Linked DNA regions of Homo sapiens: all the other regions are linked to region 1. Evidence: promoter capture Hi-C in human tissues and cell types (Jung and others, 2019). All regions are on one chromosome and are shown on one strand. Each heading gives the region's core, a stretch centred on a gene start or on the middle of the fragment in contact. The rest is flanking DNA. Distances are from core to core; before and after follow the strand shown. Region 1 holds the start of KIF23 (kinesin family member 23). Region 2 overlaps SPESP1-NOX5 (SPESP1-NOX5 readthrough). Region 3 overlaps LOC124903515 (a long non-coding RNA gene). Region 4 overlaps EWSAT1 (Ewing sarcoma associated transcript 1).

What was found. The method cuts DNA at HindIII sites, captures the fragments that hold promoters and counts their contacts. A contact is called where the count stands out against the background at its distance.
Region 2: a fragment that was not itself captured here is called in contact with the fragment with the promoter of KIF23 in region 1 in 5 of the 25 tissues and cell types used here (H1 embryonic stem cells, IMR-90 fibroblasts, aorta and 2 more).
Region 3: a contact is called between a fragment that was not itself captured here and the fragment with the promoter of KIF23 in region 1, in 4 of the 25 tissues and cell types used here (IMR-90 fibroblasts, adrenal gland, bladder and 1 more).
Region 4: a contact is called between a fragment that was not itself captured here and the fragment with the promoter of KIF23 in region 1, in 1 of the 25 tissues and cell types used here (mesenchymal stem cells).

What each region holds. Positions count from the first base shown.
Region 1 is chr15:69,411,868-69,416,576 of GRCh38, reverse strand. KIF23 (kinesin family member 23) reads right to left here and starts at 2,228. Exons shown (of 24, transcript NM_001367805.3): 1 at 2,101-2,228; 2 at 514-583. The coding sequence starts at 2,111. KIF23-AS1 (KIF23 and PAQR5 antisense RNA 1) reads left to right here and starts at 1,548. Exons shown (of 2, transcript NR_132971.1): 1 at 1,548-2,425. RefSeq lists silencers at 1,829-1,908, 1,939-2,058. The HindIII fragment of the contact is 14,046 bases long and covers 1-4,709 here.
Region 2 is chr15:69,035,752-69,040,460 of GRCh38, reverse strand. It overlaps SPESP1-NOX5 (SPESP1-NOX5 readthrough), which reads right to left. Exons shown (of 17, transcript NR_033672.2): 8 at 4,525-4,703; 9 at 3,251-3,433; 10 at 1,472-1,604. NOX5 (NADPH oxidase 5) reads right to left here. Exons shown (of 16, transcript NM_024505.4): 7 at 4,525-4,703; 8 at 3,251-3,433; 9 at 1,472-1,604. Among named protein-coding and RNA genes, the nearest start is that of NOX5, 23 kb to the right of the region's middle. RefSeq lists an enhancer at 3,181-4,380. The HindIII fragment of the contact is 4,814 bases long and covers 1-4,371 here.
Region 3 is chr15:69,069,186-69,073,894 of GRCh38, reverse strand. It overlaps LOC124903515 (a long non-coding RNA gene), which reads left to right. Exons shown (of 2, transcript XR_007064692.1): 1 at 1-2,582; 2 at 3,654-4,709. Among named protein-coding and RNA genes, the nearest start is that of EWSAT1, 9.3 kb to the left of the region's middle. The HindIII fragment of the contact is 5,134 bases long and covers 1-4,709 here.
Region 4 is chr15:69,089,677-69,094,385 of GRCh38, reverse strand. EWSAT1 (Ewing sarcoma associated transcript 1) reads right to left here. Exons shown (of 4, transcript NR_026949.1): 2 at 3,272-3,471; 3 at 2,019-2,694. Among named protein-coding and RNA genes, the nearest start is that of EWSAT1, 11 kb to the right of the region's middle. RefSeq lists enhancers at 453-953, 4,194-4,695. The HindIII fragment of the contact is 7,179 bases long and covers 1-4,709 here.

The DNA of each region.
Region 1 (4,709 bases), core at 979-3,478:
CACTCCAGTGGCAACGAGGGATAGATTTAAAATACCTCAGAGCAAAGAACCCTTTTTGTTTGCCATTTGTTGTTTTGTTTTAAAATTCTTATTCTTTTTGCCTGCTTCATTTTTTCTTCATAATTTAACTGAATTAAACTTGGTCCCAAGAAGTTTGGAACTCTCCTCATGCCATCAGTTACTGTATGGCATGAACTCAGTTCATATTCTCTGGGATGAATATGAACCCAGTTGGAGATTTTTAATTATCTAACTCTCCAAATTATAATTACAGAAGGTATGCAGTTGACAACCAAAGACTTCATTTTACTGGACTAATTTAATTAATCTTATAGAGAAAATTTCACAGCTAGCACTAGTTTTACACAATGTAGTACATCCATTTAACTAAATGTTCTTTGATTATACTTCCACATGTCTTCTTCTTTCCCTTCCAAGCATACACATAAGACAGAAAGGACTGAAGAGATAAGTTTCTTAAACACCACACATAAATTTACAGGGATACCTTACCCCAACTGGGTCTTTAAGGTTCGTTTGGGACCCTTTTTTCACGGTAGGTTTCCGGGGTGTCTTAGCTCTCCTGGTCATAGATTAAAAAATAATAATAACTTTTTTTTCAGTTCAACACGAATACAAAAGCCTCACCTAAAACTTATACAATCTTTCTAGGTTATCTGTAAATTATCCCTTAGCAGTTGCAAAACACTGCATCCCAAATAACATTAATAATCATAGTAGCAGAGTGTTTGTGGCATGCGTAATCCAAAAGTAATTAAAATTTGCTTTAGAATACATTTTTGGTACCAAAGCTACCTACTTATTCTCTGATTAGTTCTATACTTAAAATGGCTTGCATATTTTCTTGAGCAACAATTTAACAGAGGCACTACAAATTATAACTGCCCACACTTTACAGACTGACAAGCGATTAACTTCAATACACTATAAAAATGCACATGGAGGAAACCATTCTTTCGTCAAGGGTTACGCCTGTACTTTCAAGGAACAACCAGTCATTGAATGCTCAAAACATTACTCTTTGTCTCCAAACAAAATCTGGTCCCAAACTGCCAATTTCTTGGTTTCTTAAGTAGGGGCAATCAAAAAGTTATTTTGATTGATTTCACCATTTCTCTAGCATCTCATCTTTTTCCCTTCACATTTATCTATAGGCTAGATATACATTTAACACATTAAAATTAAGTAAGATTATTGGCTTCGACTGTAGTTTAAAAATATTTTTCCAAACATATTCTCAGATGAAACACAAGCAAATTCGTGTTATTCAGTGCAAAATACTTTGTGGTGGGCTTAAGTTAAACTCAACGTATATTTCTTATATATAATTTTTTTCATCTAAAGATTTTGACTTCGGCCTCTTAATAAACAAGTTGTCTTTTGCAAACGACTCCCTAAATGGTAATAAAGCCAATCCTCTCCTTTGCACGACAAATATTTCTTTACCCAGGAATGATGCTGCGCCGAAAATATTAGCTTAGGAATGTGGGCGGAGGTTCTCTGCGGCCACAAAATACAGCAGAAGTAACTGGCCTGTGTAAGCGGATGGGCTCGGCCTCAAGGACAGGGTGCTCGGCTGAAAAAAAAGCTAGCGGCGATCACCGGTGCCAGGGCTCTCCAGAAACGGAGCCCATCTAACCAATGCCCAGCACACTCGCTCTGCTCCACACACGAGACCACCTCCGACCCGCACTAAGTTGGCCAACTGCACTCTGGAGGCGGCGGCAGCCAGCGAGGGAGAAGGGAAAGGCTGTCCCGGGACCCCGAGGAGGACTGCCCCGCCCCCGGGAACCGGGTGCGGCGTAAAACAACCCCGGCTCCGGGCCGACCCTTCCTGGCCCCTTGGAGGCCCAGGCGGGGCGGCGGGGGGCGACGCGGCAGGGGTCTCCGCGCCCAGGCTCCCGCGGAGCGGCCACACGTGGAGGTTCCCACTTTGGGGTCGCGGCCGCAGCAGCACCGGGCGGGATGCTGTCCGCGCTGCCCGCGTACGGCCGCGGCCTGAGTGGAGACGCCTGCCCCCAGCCCCGAGGCCTCGGCCCCCGTCCGCCCTCTCTCCCTGCTCGGCGGCCTCGTACTCACGCTGACTTCATGGCAGCAGGCTCCACGCCGCCCAAACGCGCATGCGGGACGGCTGGCTGGCGAAGACTGCGGGACGTTAGGACCGGCAGCAAGAACTAGAACTTCGCGGCTAAGGCGCGGTGCTCTGCGAAGCCGGCGGCGACGCTAAGAGCCCAGGTGAGCTCCCGCCTGGCGCATTTCAAACGGGCCAATCAGCGCCCGTCCGCAGGGAGAGGCAGGACCTCCGCGGAAGTGACTTCGCTGCCGGAAGTGGCGCTTGTCTCCTAGGCGACCGACGCTGAAAGGGCCGCGGAGTCGCGTGTCAGGGCTGGAGGGAGATCTTGAGGTATGGTATTTAAACTCTTCCGCCTTGCGATGACGAAACTGAGGGTTTCTTTTCCTCCATCACAAGAAGTTCAATGGAAGGGCCTTTCCAGGGTTGATTCAGAGGTCGGAATGTCGTTCTGGTGAAAAGTGTTGTATTCCTGTGCTGTGCCCTGCTCCAAGTCTCAGGCTCCGTCTCTCTGGCTCCCAAGTCACCACATTATCTTGGCGTCTTTTCTCTCTCTGATTCACCTTTCCTGGGTTTCCCTCCAGCTCTGTCCTATATGTACATTATTTTATCAAATCTTTTTTTTTTCCTTTTTTATTTTTTGAGGTGGAGTTGCTCTGTCGCCCAGCCTGGACTGCAGTCTTCAGCTCACTGCAACCTCCACCTCCTAGGTTCAAGCAATTCTCTTGCCTCAGCCTCCCGAGTAGCTGGGATTACAGGCGCGCACCACCACGCCCAGCTAATTTTTGTATTTTTAGTAGAGATGAGGTTTCACCATATTGGCCAGGGTGGTCTAGAACTCCTGACTTAAGGTGATCTGCCTACCTTGGCCTCCCAAAGTGCTGGGATTACAGGCGTGAGCCACTGCGCCCGGCCTGTTTTATCAAATCTTGATTGTGTTTGATCCTGGCCTTACGGAGATGAATAAAATTTGGTCCTTACCCTTAAGGGGCAACCTTTTGAACCTACTCTTGCCTTAGATGAACTGATTCTATATCACTTCTGTCTTTGACCCTAAGCCGATGACTACCAAATACACATCTACACCTGGGCTCTCATGGAACTCTAGCCCCTTCTCAACTTCCTAAAGGACCACAGCACTGGTAAGGATAGTCACAATGTCCTTGGCCAATATTGTTGGTGCTCAGGAAACGACACCCCAGAGTATGGCTCTTTGGCACACTGAGTGCTTTGAACTAAAGAAGACTGAAAGTGCCTCAGAGAAGCCTTAAAAGCAAAGTCTGTCTCTGACTTTCTCCTGCCCTCTTGTCTCCCACCCCTCTGTGTCTCCTAAAGCAAATAATAGAAACCAGAATTTCTGTTCCCCAAGGCGGGTCATGGAAACTAGAACCCCTTTTCTCCCAAGCAAGCCAGAAACATTATTCTAGAAAAACCTAGAAATATTAATCTAGCCTTCCCCCACCTTTTTGTGTAAGAGCTGGCCATAAAGACATTCTTTGATGTACCTTGTCATAAGACCCTCGTTCCAAAAGGGTCTTGCCCTACACTCAGGAAGAAGGAAAGCTGCACAGAGAGGCCAAGAAGAATCTGAACAGACAGGACTTGCTGGATTCCTCCTTCAGTCTGTTACTATTAGATCATACTCCTTTTGTACAATCACATTTCTACACAGCTGTCCATTCTTCATCTCATCTAAGCATAAAAATGGACAGCTTTCCCTGGGTCTTTGGGTCTTCATTTCTGAAGGCACTTACATCCCATAAAACTGTGATTCAATAAGTTATCCATTTATCTTGCTAACCTGTTTTTTGTTATGGTAGTGTCAGCTGTGACCCTTAAGATGGGTAAAGAAAAGTATCACACCTTTTCCACCCCTACATTGCACATTAGGATGGTTCCAACTTTTCCTATTACAGATACAGCTATAGTGAATGAATGTGGAAATTTATACAATGCAGGTAAATATGTAGGAAACATTTCTAGAAACAGAATTGCTGAGTCAAAGAGTATACATATGTGTAACATTTCACAGATATTGCAAATCATTCTCCATAAAAGCTGTCCAAATGTACACTCCCACCAGCCTGTATGAGAGTGCCTATTTCTCCACAATTCTCAAAGTGTTATCAAACTTTTCAGTAGCTACCAATCTATTGATATCTCATATCAATTGGTGAGAAAAAACATGTAGTTAAATTTTTCATTTATTTTCAGATAAATGTTGTCTATTCATATATTTTAGAGCCCTTTTGATTCCTTCTCTATCAACTGTGTTCATATTCTTTGCCTCTTTGTTCTATTGGTTGTTCGTTTTTCTTAATGATCTGTGAAAGTTCTTATATTAAAAAAAAATTGGTCCTCATCCAAAATACGAGTTTAAATACTTTTATTTTTCACATTTTGGTTATTTTTATTTGTATATGTTTTGTGACAGCTTGGAAAAAATTTCAGGTAGACAGATTAATCCGTCTTTTCTTTTATGGCTTCTGTTTTGTGTCATACTGGAAAAATACATCCATTCTGAGTTTTTTATTTTATTTCTCATTTTTTGTTTCCTAGTGCTTTTATTGCTTTGCTTCCTATGTTGAAGTCTTTGAATGATTAGGACTTTGTTGTC
Region 2 (4,709 bases), core at 715-3,214, 380 kb after region 1:
TGTATACAAAATCTCTCCATCTGATTAGCCATGTAGATAGATAGATAGAGAGAGAGAGCTGGAAGCCTATTCACCAAATAATTGGCAATGGTTTTCCTTGGATAAAATTATTTGAAGGATTCTCATTTTCTTCTGTACATATTTTGATATTGTCTGAGTTCTCTGAGAGCATAGACGTTCTTTACAAAGTAGAAAAGAAAAGGAAAAAAATAGGGAGAAAATAGCTTCACCCTCTCCAACCTCTAACTTTGTTCCGTGGTACATTGAGGGCACAATTCAGGTGATTCCAAGGTAGGGGGTATGCAGCCCCACATGGGGAAACCCTGGCCTTGGGTCTACATCGTGAGCTGAGGGATCTGGGCCAGGGGTCCTGCTGGGCTGGGTCTGGGAGGCATCCTGAGTGACACTAAAGCTTGTAACCAGGATGAGTCAGAGAACCCCCAGCACCCAGGGCTGGATACCCCTCATGAAGCCAAGCCAGGGTCTTACTGTAATAGGTCACTCAAGGCCTTCCCTGTTGGAAATGTCAGTGCAAGCCACACTTGTCATACTTGGAGGCACCTCTCGTGGTGGGAAGGCCAATCATTGGCCTGGCCAGAAGGGCAGAGGTCCAGGTAGCAGCTCTAAAAACAGCCTGGGACCAGAAGGAAGGCACGTGCACGGGTGAGAGTCAGAGGACAGCTGAGCAAAGCATCAGCTGAACTGTTCTGTGTGTGCTGGGAACCCAAAAAGCAGTGGGAATAGTTCAGGGCTGGAGAAGGGTGTGAGGGATTCTGCTGCCTTGGGGCTCTATAAGGCCCAAGTCCAGGTGGGAGTAGGGAAGCCTGGTCTCCCATCGCAGCCCTCTTAAAAATGCCTATATCCTCTCCTGAGCTGGCTACTCCTCTGCTTAAGAACCATTCCTGGCTCCCAATTGGCTGCTCCATCCATCTGGATTCCAACTTTGCTTCTGAAGTCCTCCTTAGTCCCATCCTAGCTCTAACTGGCTTTGCCAGCCACATCACCTGCCTTTCATGCTCTTTTTCTCTCTCTGTATGTCCCTCCCTTCTTTCCTTGCTACTCCACCTGCCTACCCCCCGCCACCCCCCATAGCTCTAGTTACAGAAGACTCTTCTGAGTTTCCAGGTCCTCATGTTTTTACTTCTGCTTTTCCCTCTGCCTCCTCCCCATCTCCTTCCCTATCTGGTAAACTCCTGCTAACCATTCAAAGTCCAGCTGAATGCCCCTGTGTCTGCAAAGGCTTCTCTCCACCAAGCCAGGCCCTCCCTGTAAGACTTCAGTGCAGCTGGTACAGCCCTTGCCATGCCAATCGGTGTCTGCATGCCTGCTCCCACTTCAAAGAGAGCTTTTTGAGGCTGACTTTGTGTTTCTGGCCTTGTTCAGTGCTGTGTTCCGAGTTTCCAGCCTGTACTTGGCCCACGGTAGGAACTCAGTGAATATGTGCAGAGTGACTGGAGGAGGTGGCCATTACCTTTCTGCTCAGGAGCACTGCTGATGGTGAAGGGGTGCCACTCATAGCGAGCAATGGTGGGGATGTTCAGATACAAGTAGTCACCAGGTCTATAGTGAAAAAAAGGGGGCCGCTTGATGAGGAGATGAGTGACCTGGGAAAGAGGAAGGAGATCTGCATCATTCCTGCAGGCCCAAAGCCACCAGGGGCTACAGGACAAGAGGGCAGAAGCTGGGCTGCCCTCCTCCTCCATAAAACAGGCATGCCCCGAGACATGACACTCTTCTGTGCTTCTGAGTGGTGGCCCACCTCAGCAGCCAACCTGCCAATCTGGAAGTGGGCAACAATCCTAGAGGGGGCAGCCAGGCTGTGTCTGAATTGGGGCCCCTGGTTTTACCCTGCCTCTCAGGGTGTAAGCACTGCTTTTTAGTGGACCCTCTGTGACGTATCCCTGTGATGCCTCCCTGGCTACTCCAGCCCTTTCTTGGAACTTCAGCCAGAGTGTGGCTAGCATTCTAACCATCAATGGGCATCTCTCCTTGGATAACAACATCTTTCCAGACAATTGCTTTGGAGCACTGTGTTATCTCTAGGCCTCACAGCAGTTGTATGACGTGGATATTATTTTCTCTCTACTTTAGGGACAAGAAGAGGAGGCTCAGAGAGGTTAAATAACTTCCCAAGGCCACTGGGTAAGAAACCGTGGGATCTGAATGCAGCTGAGGCTGTTGGATGCCAGAGCCTAGACACAGAGCACAGCCTCATTCTTCAGCCTCCCAGGTCCTCTAACGCAGTGTGTCCAGAGCTGAGCCCGCCTAGAACTGCCTTCCTTTTCTCAGACACCTGGGAGACGTCCTAGACTCCATCCTCTCTGTTGCCGCAAAACATAACCAGTTGCTTCTTGAGTCTTTCTGTGATGTGCACCTGCCTCCATCCCATGGCCACTGCCTCAGTGTCAAGGCCCTCATGAACTCTCATCTTTGTATTTGCAAGAACCTCCCCACAAGCCCCCTCCAAGCTACCTTCCACAGAGCAACTAAAGAAATCTAACTAGAATATTAATGGTCACAGCTTAATACCACCATCTCCTCCCAGCGTGCTCAGGGGTTCCCCATGGCCTGCGGGGTTGGTCTCCCAGCTCAGGAGGCCCTTCATAATCAGGCCTTCCTCACCTCTCTGGCTTCCTCCTGGCAACTTGGCTCCAGCTATGCCAAATTACCTGTGGTCCCCCAAGCACAGTATACCCTTTCACAATTCTGTGTCTTTACTGTGCTGTTCCTCCTGCCAGCAATACCCTTCCTTGTCTTCTCTATCCAACAAACTCTTATTCATCCCTCAAAACCCTGATATGGCATCTTCTCCCTTATTCTGAAGCTTTTTCTGACCTCCCAAAGACAAAGGGTTTAATACCTCCAGCAACACAGCCCTGCACTGTAATGAAAGGGCTGGCTCCCCTAGAAAGCAGGACAGTGCAGAACCTTCTCTATTTCTCTGTAACCTAGTTCAGGGCCTGGCACCCTGTAGGCACTAATAAACGCTTACTGAGCTGAAGGAGACTGTTCTCCCCAAAATCGGATTTTAGAGGTTTATTGCCTGCCCTGCCATTCATCTTCCTAAAGCTTCCCTCCTGGAGGGCTGGACTGGGTCTTGCATTTTGCTTCTCTCCTCCATAGCAATGGGGCTGCAGCTACACTATTCTCTATTTCCTTGGGGGTCTGACAGGGTATCCAGCTGCTCCACCCCACAAACTGTCCCTTGGGGTGAGTTGGAAAAGCACCTCCCCATCCCCCACCTTTGTACCTTGGAGGGGAGGAGGTTGACTTCCATGATGCACACGGCTGCCATGCGGGACACTGCCAGTCCGATGGCCTTCTCCAGGAAAAACAAGATTCCAGGCACCAGCAGCCACTTCCAGAAGTTGGGCCCATGAAAGATGAGCAGAAGCCACACGAGGAGGTAGGACAGGTGAGTCCAATAGAACACCTATGGGGGTAGGGGGGGCAGTCAACTTCCAGAGCTCAAGGCCTGGGGGGTGGAACAGAGCCAGGACTCAGGGTTATCCTCAAAGCCAGGGCAGTGCTCAGAGCCTTGACTCTCTCCCGGGGATGGAGTTGGGTAAGATGTTGGGGCTGGGAAGCTTCTTTTTCTGGGTGCTTGGCCAAAGGAGGCTGTAAGGGAAGATTCCTGATACCAGAGGCAAACATCTGAAATATCTGCCTGGGGAGGTTCTGGGCAGAGTGGACTGCCCCCACAGGGATCATGAGCATCAGTATCGCTACCCCCGACCCATTCTCAGAAGGAAGAAAGGAAAGACAGCAATGGCTTCCTGGGAGTGGAGAAGAAATAGCAGAAGACAATTTTAGCACCTTCTGAAGCTTTGTGATCTTGGGCAATTTCATTACTTTTCTGAGTGTGAAATTCCTCATGGGTCAAATGAGGATTCTGATTCCTACTTCAAAGGCTTGTTGCTGGCCCAGAGTAGGTACGTGCTCAGTATATGTCTATTTCTGATGTGGTCAGGCCACAAGATAGTCAAGCTCTCCAAACCAAGTCCTCTGTGACTTTCTGCATCTTGAGGAGGCTGGAGAGACAGAAGCAAAGATGGAACTAACATTTTCAGAGCACCTATGTGCTAGGATGTAGTTAGTGGTTTTACATGTATTATCGCCTATAATTCCTAAAATAACATAGAGAATTACACCTCCATTTTACAGATGAGAGAACTGAGGCTTGGAAAGGTTGAGCGACCAGTAAGCAGTGGAGTGGGGATTCAAAACCTGCTGAGCCTATGTTCCTTCCCCTCCCTGTACTGTTTTAAGCCCAACTTAATCCAAATAGGCTAAAGGGATAAGCCAGCAAAAAGGCAGACTCTTCCGCAGCAAAACATCTACACTTGGCAGACATAAACTACAGTCCAGTGGCAGAACACAGCAGCAGGTCCCAAATCACATGCAAATAATATGCAGACCAGCTTGGGACCTTCCTGGGCTCTGGAGTAAATCAGAGGGGACACAGAAAGAAATGAAAGTAGGACCCTGGCCTTGGGGGAAGCAAAAGGGCAGCAACTGGGGCACCTCAAAGTGGCCACTCCTGCGGATGCAGGAACTGGAGCAGATGAACATGAGGAGGAGCAGCAGCAGCAGAGCGACACCTGTCGGGGAGGCCGAACCGTGTACCCAGCCAATGCCAGGCCTCGTGGTGAGCAGCAGCTCCCAGAACTGGAAAGGGCTGGCCTCCGCCTGAGCCTGGAGTACTGGAA
Region 3 (4,709 bases), core at 1,285-3,784, 340 kb after region 1:
TCAGTGGGTAAAATGCTGTTTCTATTTATCTCCTCTTCCTTCCATCTCTGCTATCTGCCTGCCTCTCTCTCTTTTTATGATTTTCTTTGTTTTATCACACAGGGAATATGCAAATGCATTTTCATTGTAAGAAGTTGAAACAATGCAGGAGATTACAAAGTAAAATGTGAACACCATATTGCAACTCGCCACCCCCATTCCACTTTCCTCCACCCTGGTAAAACCACTGCCTGCCATTTGGTATGCGACATTCACTCCTATTCCACGCATTTACAAGTATGTGAAAGTACACATTCGGATATACACAAATATAACATTATTGCATATATGCACATATGTACATGCACACATAACTTTTTTGCAGTTTTATGTCATGGAGACCATACAGTAAGTGTTCTTCAGATTGTCATTTTCATGTACTAATATGTCTTAAGGAGCTGTCAATGACAGAACATACAGGTCTTTTACGCCATAGCTCTCTTTCTAATAGCTGCAAATTCCAAACTGTGGATTTCTCATGGATTATTTAACCTCCCATTATTTACATTTCTGGTGTTTCTTTTTTTAAATTTTTTATTTTCTTTCTCTTTTTTGTCATTACAAACAGGAAGCAATGATTATTGTATTAGTTATTTACTGCTGCCTAACACAATACTCCAAAAAGTAGTGGCTTAAAAGTATAATAAATATTTATAATCACTCACATTTTTTGCCAGTCAGGAATTCACAGCTTCTTGGGTGGGTGGTTTCTGGCTCAGTGTTTTGCATGGGCTTGCAGTCAAGATGTTGACTGAGGCGTCAGTCAAATGAGGCTTGACTAGGCCTGCAGGATCTATTTGCTCTCAGAGCTGGCAAGTGGATGTGGGCTGTTGGTGGCAGCCCTTAGTTTCTCACCCATGTGGGTCTCTCCACAAGGCTAATTGAGTGTCCTCACAACATGGTGGCTGTTTCCATCATAGCCAGTCATTCGAGAGAGCAAAGTAGAAGCATAGGGCCTTTTATGACCTAGCCTCCGAAGTCACACATTGTCACTTTGGCCACATTCTATTCATTAGGAGTAAGTCATTAAGTGTAGCCCTTTTGTGAAGGGAAGGGTATCAAAGAATTTGTGAACATATTTTAAAACCACTAGTATTACCCTTATACATAATCTTTGTGTAGTTGTGTGACTATTTCCTTAGAATACATTTCTAGAACTGGAATTGCTGGGTCTAGCAATATATGCACTTTTAACTTTGATAATTCCTCCTGTTTGTATTAGAAACTGTTCACTGTCCCCCTACTATCCATTTTCTCTTTTCTTCCTTTTAGCAATGAATCTCCTGAGTTTCAGGTGGGTATGAGTTGAGAATATATTTTCCACCCCCCTTGCTACTACATGGGGACGTGTAACTAAGTTATGACTGATGAGAAGCATTGTGTGCAATTTCTGAATCAGGTCCTTAAAATACGCTGTTTGTTGTACTTCTGCTTTCCCCAGGGAGAAATCTATTCAGAGAACAGATGTGGTAGTGGGAGTCAGCTTCCAGCAGGTGATGCAGGTAACACCCCTGGGGATGGTGGTACAATGTACAGAAAGAACCTGTGTCCTTGTATAACCTTGTGGAGCCGAGCCAGCCTTCTTTCCAGGACTTTCTACTAGCTTAGACTTTTGTATGAGAAAAAAATAAAATAAAGCTTTTATCTTGTTTCAGCCACTGTTACTTACTGATGATTTGCCTCCTCGAAAGCCTCCCCAACAATGTATGAGTATCCATTTCCTCCATCCTTGCCCACACTAGATATTATCAATCTTCAAAAAGCTATCAATCTGATGCCCCCCTAACTTATGACTTCATAATCTCCTTCACGTGCTATTGCTAGGGGCAGGGTGAAGGATATTGATATAAAATTCAAGAAAAAAACCTACCACAATCATATTAATAGAAAACACAAAGATATAATCTTGCTTTTGAGAAAGAAACTGCAATTTCAAAAGGACTCATACATCCCCCCATAGACTCTGCATGGATGCTGTGCCTTCCCTCAAAGGCATTACAGACTAACTGGGAAAAGGTATCTGGACATAGAAAACTAGCAGTACAGAGTGGAACAGTCTGGCTGGCTAATTCCTGGTACTGACCCAGGGAGATTGAGAAGGGAGCTGTGATGGAGGACATTTAGCCTCCCAAAGTCAGTGGTTCATGAATTTCGTATGCTATTCGGGTGAGAAGCAGGGAGAACGGAGTGGACTATCTGGGAGAAAGTTGTGGCAAATGCTAAGGGTACAGGCTCTGGAGTTAGACTGTCTACATTCATGTCCCATCCCTGCCACTTCACTCTGTTGGCACATACTTACTGAGTGCCTTCTGCAAGCAAGATACTATTGGTGAGGCTGGGCATTCCACGAGAAACTCTGCTGTAACTGGATCTTCCTTTCAGAGTGCTGAGACAGATGACGACAGGCTGGGCTTCAGTTCCCTCACCTGGAGAGTGATGAGAACACCAGCGCAAAATTCCAGGGCCATTGGGAAGATGGAATGAAATAGTACATGTAATGGCTCGCATCCATAGTGCCTGGAACATAACAAATGCTCGTAAAGGTAGGTGTTATCATTAAGAAAAGCCATGAAGGAGAAAGTCCCTAGAGCCCCCAAGGTTCCTTTCTGTGCCTTCACTGGTGACTCCCATAAACTTTGTTTTAATGCCCCCGATATAGTGTGGATATTTCTCCCCTCCAAATCTCATGTTGAAGTGTGATCCCAGTGTTGGAGGCGGGGGCTGGTGAGAAGTGTTAGGTCACGGGAGTGGGTCCCTCATAAATGGCTTGGTGCCCTCCCTGTGGTAATGAGTGAGTTTTTGCTCTATTAGTTAGAGTGAGATCTGATTGTATAAAAGAGCCTGGCACCTCTTCCTCCCTCTCTTGCTCCCTCTCCTGCCATGTGACCTGCCTACTCCCCCTTTGCCTTCTGCCATGAGTAAAAGCTTCCTGAGGCCTCACCAGAAGCCGAGCAGATGCCAGTGTCATGCTATCCAGCCTGCAGAACCATGAGCCAAATAAACCTCTTTTCTTTATAAACTACCCAGTCTCAGGTATTCCTTTATAGCAATGCAAAATGGACTAATACAACCCCCCCATAGAAAAACTCCTGCTTTCATAAAAGATATCAGTTCTTTCTCACTGAGGTGAAAATGATTGATGTAGTTTGATGCACTACTTCTGTTGCATTTACACTTTAGTGGAGAACATACTGTGTTTGGTTAAATCACAGGGACGAAAGTCTAATTATGAAATTTCAGGCATCAGCAAAGCTAAACCACAGGCATTTGGGCCAATTGAGGGTGCTTCACTGATGCTGCTGAAATAAACATTTTTAGGGAGCTGGCCCAGTCTTCTCTTCCCTTCCCTTCCCTTCCCTCTCTTCCAGTCCCTTCTTATCTCTCCTCTTCTGTCTCTGCTCCCCTGCCTCCCTTTTCTTTCTCTCCCTCCTCTTCCTCCTCTCCTCTGTCTCCTCTCTGTCTTTCCCTTGCTTAAATGGCTATCTAAGTCCCTGATGATTCAATGTGATTACGTTTCCATAGGCAGGTGTGTGTCTTGTTTAGTCACATTAAAAATAAATCACTTGGCCACACGCAGTCGATGCATCAATCTGTTACTTTCCTCTGCTTTCCAGGAACAGATTGCTCAAAAATCAGACGACTGTTGGGTGAAATGCGAGTGGGGAAAGGAGTGAGATGAAGGGAACAGAGCCCTTCCAAACTCGCCCTTCAGCCTTCCTACCCAATCAGAAAGGAAATCAGTCATGCCCACAATCCTGCCAATAACACAGTGTAGCGGCTGCATTCTTTGGACCAATGACAGTGAGCTGTAGAAGAAATCTCATTTGGAGAAGAGATGGGGGCTTGTGTTTACTGAACATCTACTACGAATCAGGCCCTGTGCTTTTTTTTGCATCTGTTCTCTTCTAAAGGGGAATCAGGATCCTGGCTGAGGGACCCTGGACTATTTCACCTTTCAGGATCTCAGTTTCTTTAGACCAAAAACACTAACTCTTATTTTTTTGTTGCACTTTTTTAAAAAAAATTAAACTTTAAGTTCTGGGGTACATGTGCAGAATGTGCAGGTTTGTTACATAGGTATACAAGTGCCATGGTGGTTTGCTGCACCCATCAACCCATCATCTACACTAGATATTTCAACTGATGCTATCCCTCCCCTAGCCCCCCAACCCCAAGACAGGCCCCAGTGTGTGATGTTCCCTTCCCTGTGTCCATGTGTTCTCATTGTTCAGCTCCCACTTATGAGTGAGAACATGTGGTGTTTGGTTTTCTGTTCTTGTGTTAATTTGCTGAGAAAGATGGTTTCCAGCTTCATCCATGTCCCTGCAAAGGACATGAACTCATCCTTTTTAATGGCTGCATAGTATTCCATGGTGCATATCTGCCACATTTTCTTTATCCAGTCTATCATTGATAGGCATAATTCCTATTCTTTAAAAAATTTTTTTTTGTAGAGATGGGGTCTTGGTATGTTTCCCAGGCTGGTCTCAAACTCCTGGGCTCAAGTGATCCTCCCACCTTGGCCTCCCAAAGTTCTGGGATTATAGGTATGAGCCACCACACTAATTCATATTCTAATAATTCTTTCTGGCATCAGGGACAAGTCTTGGGGTTATTCAGACCTAGCTCCACCCTTTTGGGTAAATTACTTATTATCTCTGAGCCTCAGT
Region 4 (4,709 bases), core at 1,075-3,574, 320 kb after region 1:
CTACCTCCTTTCCTTCCTTCTTTCCTTCCTTCCTTTCTTCCTTCTTTCCTTCCTTCTTTCCCTCCCTCCCTCCCTTCCTTTCTCTCTTCTTCTCTCGCTCCTTCTTCCTTCCTTTTTCCCTCTCTTTCCTTCCCCACCCCTCCCTTCCCTTTTCTCCCCTCCTTCCCCGACCACCATTTCCAGAGGATACCAGGACTTCAAACTGACTCCCACGTGTGTGCTAACTCTGATAGTTAGTGGCTGTGTGATTGTGGGCAATCATGCCTGCTTTATAAGGTAGCTACTCTGACCTCACAGGGTTGGTTGGTTGTTGGGATTTAGTAAATTCAGGCATGGATGTGCACAGCAAATGCCAGCCTGGCTGGAAAAGCTCAGTACATGGCAGCCATCAGAATTGTTGTCACTGTTGTGCAGTGTCAGTGATCAGGAGTGACAAGGCATCTCTTGATCTCAGTCTACTTCTACCAGCAGGTAAACAAAGAGTGTGATGAGAGTTTTATAAAAGGCAGGGTGCTAGGGTGCTTGGAGGGGACTCAGAAGAGCAAGGGCCCAGCCTTCCTGGTAGAAGGGGCAAGATCTGGGAGAGCTTCCTGGAGGAGGTGACTCTCAAGTCTTACAGGATAGCTGGATTTCACCAAATGAGTCCAGGCCAAGGAGAGGCTTTGGCTGAGGTGTGAGAGGCAAACTGCAAAGACCTCTGGTGTGTCCAGGCATTGGATCCTGTGTGGGAAGCCTGTCTGCAGGCTATGATGCAAAGCAGGTCCTATGAGTGCTGGGCACCGCTGGACGAGTTTAACCAGACTAGGAATGCTGGGACTGAGGGATCTGAAAAAAAATCTTTACAGGCCACCAAATCTTCTAAACTCAGGTGGCAGGCTTCCTGTGGTGGTCGCCCAGATCCACTTCAAGGAGGGACATGCTGGGAGAGCTATAGTCAGGCCAGCCCCTTTCAGACGGCCTCAGCTGCAGAGCGCAGCCAGGCCTGAGATCCCTCCTCTTCCTGGGCAGTGCACATTCAGTGACTGACCAATGCTGGGGTATAAAGGTGTGGCCATCACAGCCCAAGTCATGATGACTCTGAGGAACTCATCTAGCTGCAGGACTCCTACAAGGGATTGAGGGATTGGAGAGGCTGTGGCTGGCCTGCACTGAAACCCCACCTCTCCCTCTGCCCCACCTGCTTCCTTCCCTTCCATTCCCTCCCAGAGACTGTCTCTAAATTCCAGTAAACACAGTCGCAGAGTCCCCTACTCACCCCTTTGGGCTGAGCATTGTCTTTCCATACTGCTTTCCCCCTACTGTCCTCTTTTTATTTTTAATTTAATTTCTTTTAAAGACAGGGTCTCCATCTGTCGCCCAGGCTGGAGGCAGCAGTGCGATCACAGCTCACTGCACCCTCTACCTGGGCTCCAGCGATCCTCTCACCTCAGCCTCTGACTAGCTGGGACTAGAGGTGCACACTACTGTACACAGGTAATTTTCTTTAAAAAAATATTTTTATGTTGCCCAGACTAGTCTCAAACTCCTGGGCTCAAGTGATCCTCCTGCCTCAGCCTCCCAAAGTGTTAGGATTACAGGTGTGAGCCACAATGCCCAGCTCTACTTGCCTCCTTTTCAAGTAAACTTCTTTTTTGTTGAAGTATAACATGCATACAGAAAGATGCAAAACTTAACCAATTATGTACAACATAAATCTCTGCAAAGTGAACATAGCCTATAACTGTCACCAGATCAGGAAACAGAATTTTACCAGCACTCCCAGAGTCCCTTTTTGCCCCACTCCTTCTCAAAGGCAACCCCTGTCCTGACTTCTTAACACCACAGACTTAAGGCTTACATGTTTTCAAACTTGAAATTAATGGCGTCAGAGCGTGCTGTCTTACGTATCTGGCTTCTTTCACTCAACATCACCTTCGTGAGATTTGTTCATGTTGTTGCAGGTGACAGTGCTCTATTCATTCTCATTGCTATACACATTTTCATTGTCTAAATTACCCCCACTTTATTTATCTACTCACCACTGATGGGCATTTGGGTGGTTTCCAGTTTATGACTAATACAAACGGCTCTACTATGAACATTCTTGTATCTTGTGTAATTGACTTTTGGTGCCTTTATAAACAAACTTCTGTTAGATATATACCTGGGCTCAGGATTTCCGGAGTAGGCATGAATATATTCAGCTTTAGTGATGCTTCTAAACTGTTCTTCCAAAGGGGCGGTATTAATTTACCCCTTCCGCAGTGCATAGGAGAGTTCCAGTTGTTCTGCATCCCCACCAGCCCTTGATATTGTCAGTCTTTGCACTTTCAGCCATCCTGGTGTAGTTCTAATTTGAATTCCCTGTTGGCTAATGAGATTGAACATATTTTCATATGCTTCTTGGCCATTTGGAGGTGCTCCTTTGTGATGTGGCTCTTCTGAGGTTTTTGCCTATGTATCTAATGAGGTTTTTGCCTTGTTGATTTGGAGGAGTTCTTTATACATGCAAGTGCTTTGTCAGATTCCCATGCTCCCTTTTTGAGATTCAAATATCCCCAGGGTAGGGTGAGGCCTGGCATCACCAATACTTGGGTGGTTCCAAATTACTTTCTCCCTTCTCTGGGCCTGGGAAGCCCTTCCAGAATGGAGGCCTCCTTACTGAGGCTGCATTTCCCTTCCTCTTACCAGTTTTATTCTTTCGGCTGGGAGAAGCTGAAATACAAAAGGGTACACACTAAAAAAAAATCAGGAGCAAAGATCTGGAGTTTTCACAGAGGAGAAAGGAGGCCATGGGAAGAGTTTGACCTCTCCCCTCCACCTGGGCAATCACAAGTGTGAGTATCTCAGTCTGGGCTGTAAGTGAGGAGGTAACTGCAGACAATGCTCTGAGGAGCTCTCAGGCTCAGGATACCTGGCAGGGGACTGGAGGAGGTTGGAAACTCCTCTCTGCTTCCAGAGGGACAGTGCAGAGGAGGTGCCCCAGCCCAGGGGGGATTGGAGGAGGAGATGAGAAGAAAGAAACAGGGGGGTCAGAACGTTTTATGGAAAGATGTGAACCCCTCAGTGGACAGGACTGTCTTCATCTCCAGGTCCCTGGTCCTTAGCATGGTACGTGCCCATGAATGTGCCTACCAGAAAGTAAGGGACACGTGGAACTTTCTGAAGGTAAGCCCTGTGGAAGGAGGGCCTGTGGCTGCTCATCGGTATGGGTTGAATGAATGAAGTTCAAATTATGATGTAAATAATAATAGCTCCATTTCTTGAGCAGCAACTAGGCAAGTGTACTTACTAGCATCACATTTAATCCAACAAGCACTAAATGGAAATTCATATCCAGTTCCATCTGATTCCAGAGCTCACAGGCTTTTTCCCTAAGCTGCACACCTTCTCATGACAGGAACCACAAAGAGTTTACCAAGGTGTTCTCTAGGCAGGAAGTCCACTCTTCTCCCTTCCAGGTGAGGAATCGCAGGCCCAAGAAGAGGGGCTCTGAGAAAAGGAGGCGGAGAAAGGTGAAATTACAGATGCTCCTCTTATCCTGCCCATCACCTCCTTCAAACTGTTTCACTTCCCTTCCTCCCCTCCCTCCCTCCCTCTCTCCTTCCCTTCCCCTCACTTCCCCTCCCCTTCTCTCCCTTCCCTTCCTTTCCCTTCCCTTCCCTTCTTCCTTCCTTCCTTTCTTCCCTCCCTCGCTCCCTCCTCCACAAACATTTCTTGAGCACCTACTGTGTGCTGGACTCTGTACTAAGGCCACAGTGACCAGAACAGACACAAAACCCTGTCTTTATACAGTTTACACTCAGTGGTGAATGCAGAAGACAGTCATTAATCAAATGAAGATGTCATTACACATGGGATGGGGAAACCTGGAGGCAATTGCATGCAGTTTGCTCTTCCAGCTGCAGACACTCCCCTCCCCAGTGTGGGAGAGAGCCCAGCCTCTGTGAGTTCTGTTCTCAGAGGATTTTGTGTTGCTGGGTGAGCCACATCATCCAGCCAAGCCGCTGGCTGCACAGGCTGCTGTTGCCAAGCACCCCAGAACACACCTCCTCCCCTTCCTGGCTTTTGTTTTGTAAAAACACGTTTTCAGGGGAATTATGCTGAATTGTCTGAGAGAGGGAGGGCTTGGAGCAGGTGAGAGGGAAGTAGCTGAAGAAGGGATTTGGGGAGCTTCTCCTCACCAGAAAAAGGGGCAGACAGGCAATAGGGATGGGCGGCGGTGGGGAGACCTTAGAGGGAAGTGGGCAGTGAGGACCCTAGGGTGGTCACGCCTACTTGGCACACAAGGTTCCCAACCTCAACAAAGGTGCAAATAATCCCCCCTATAAACACACACACACACACACACACACACAAACACACACACACTCTCAGGTAAGCCTGGCAGGGACATGGCAGAGCCTCCAGTCTTCAGGGACTAGGAAATCCTGGACAACAGCCATTATCTATGGTGTCCAGGGCAGCTCGCAGTCCAGAGGACCTAGCCTGAGCTATGTGGGTTCCTTAAGCCCTCAGACCCTTGCTTGCGTGGGGAGGAGCCCCAATGTCAACCAAGATGGAGCTGCCCAGTCTTGCAACGCAGCCCCAGTTCATCACCTAGTTTTCCTCCCTTCATCTTCAAACCCCTTCCTGGCCTCTAGACTATCATATTTCCTCTGACCTTTTTCATTTGATCCTTCATTCCCTAACTCCGGTGGGAGACCTCAACCCAGAACTCCTATGTGCTT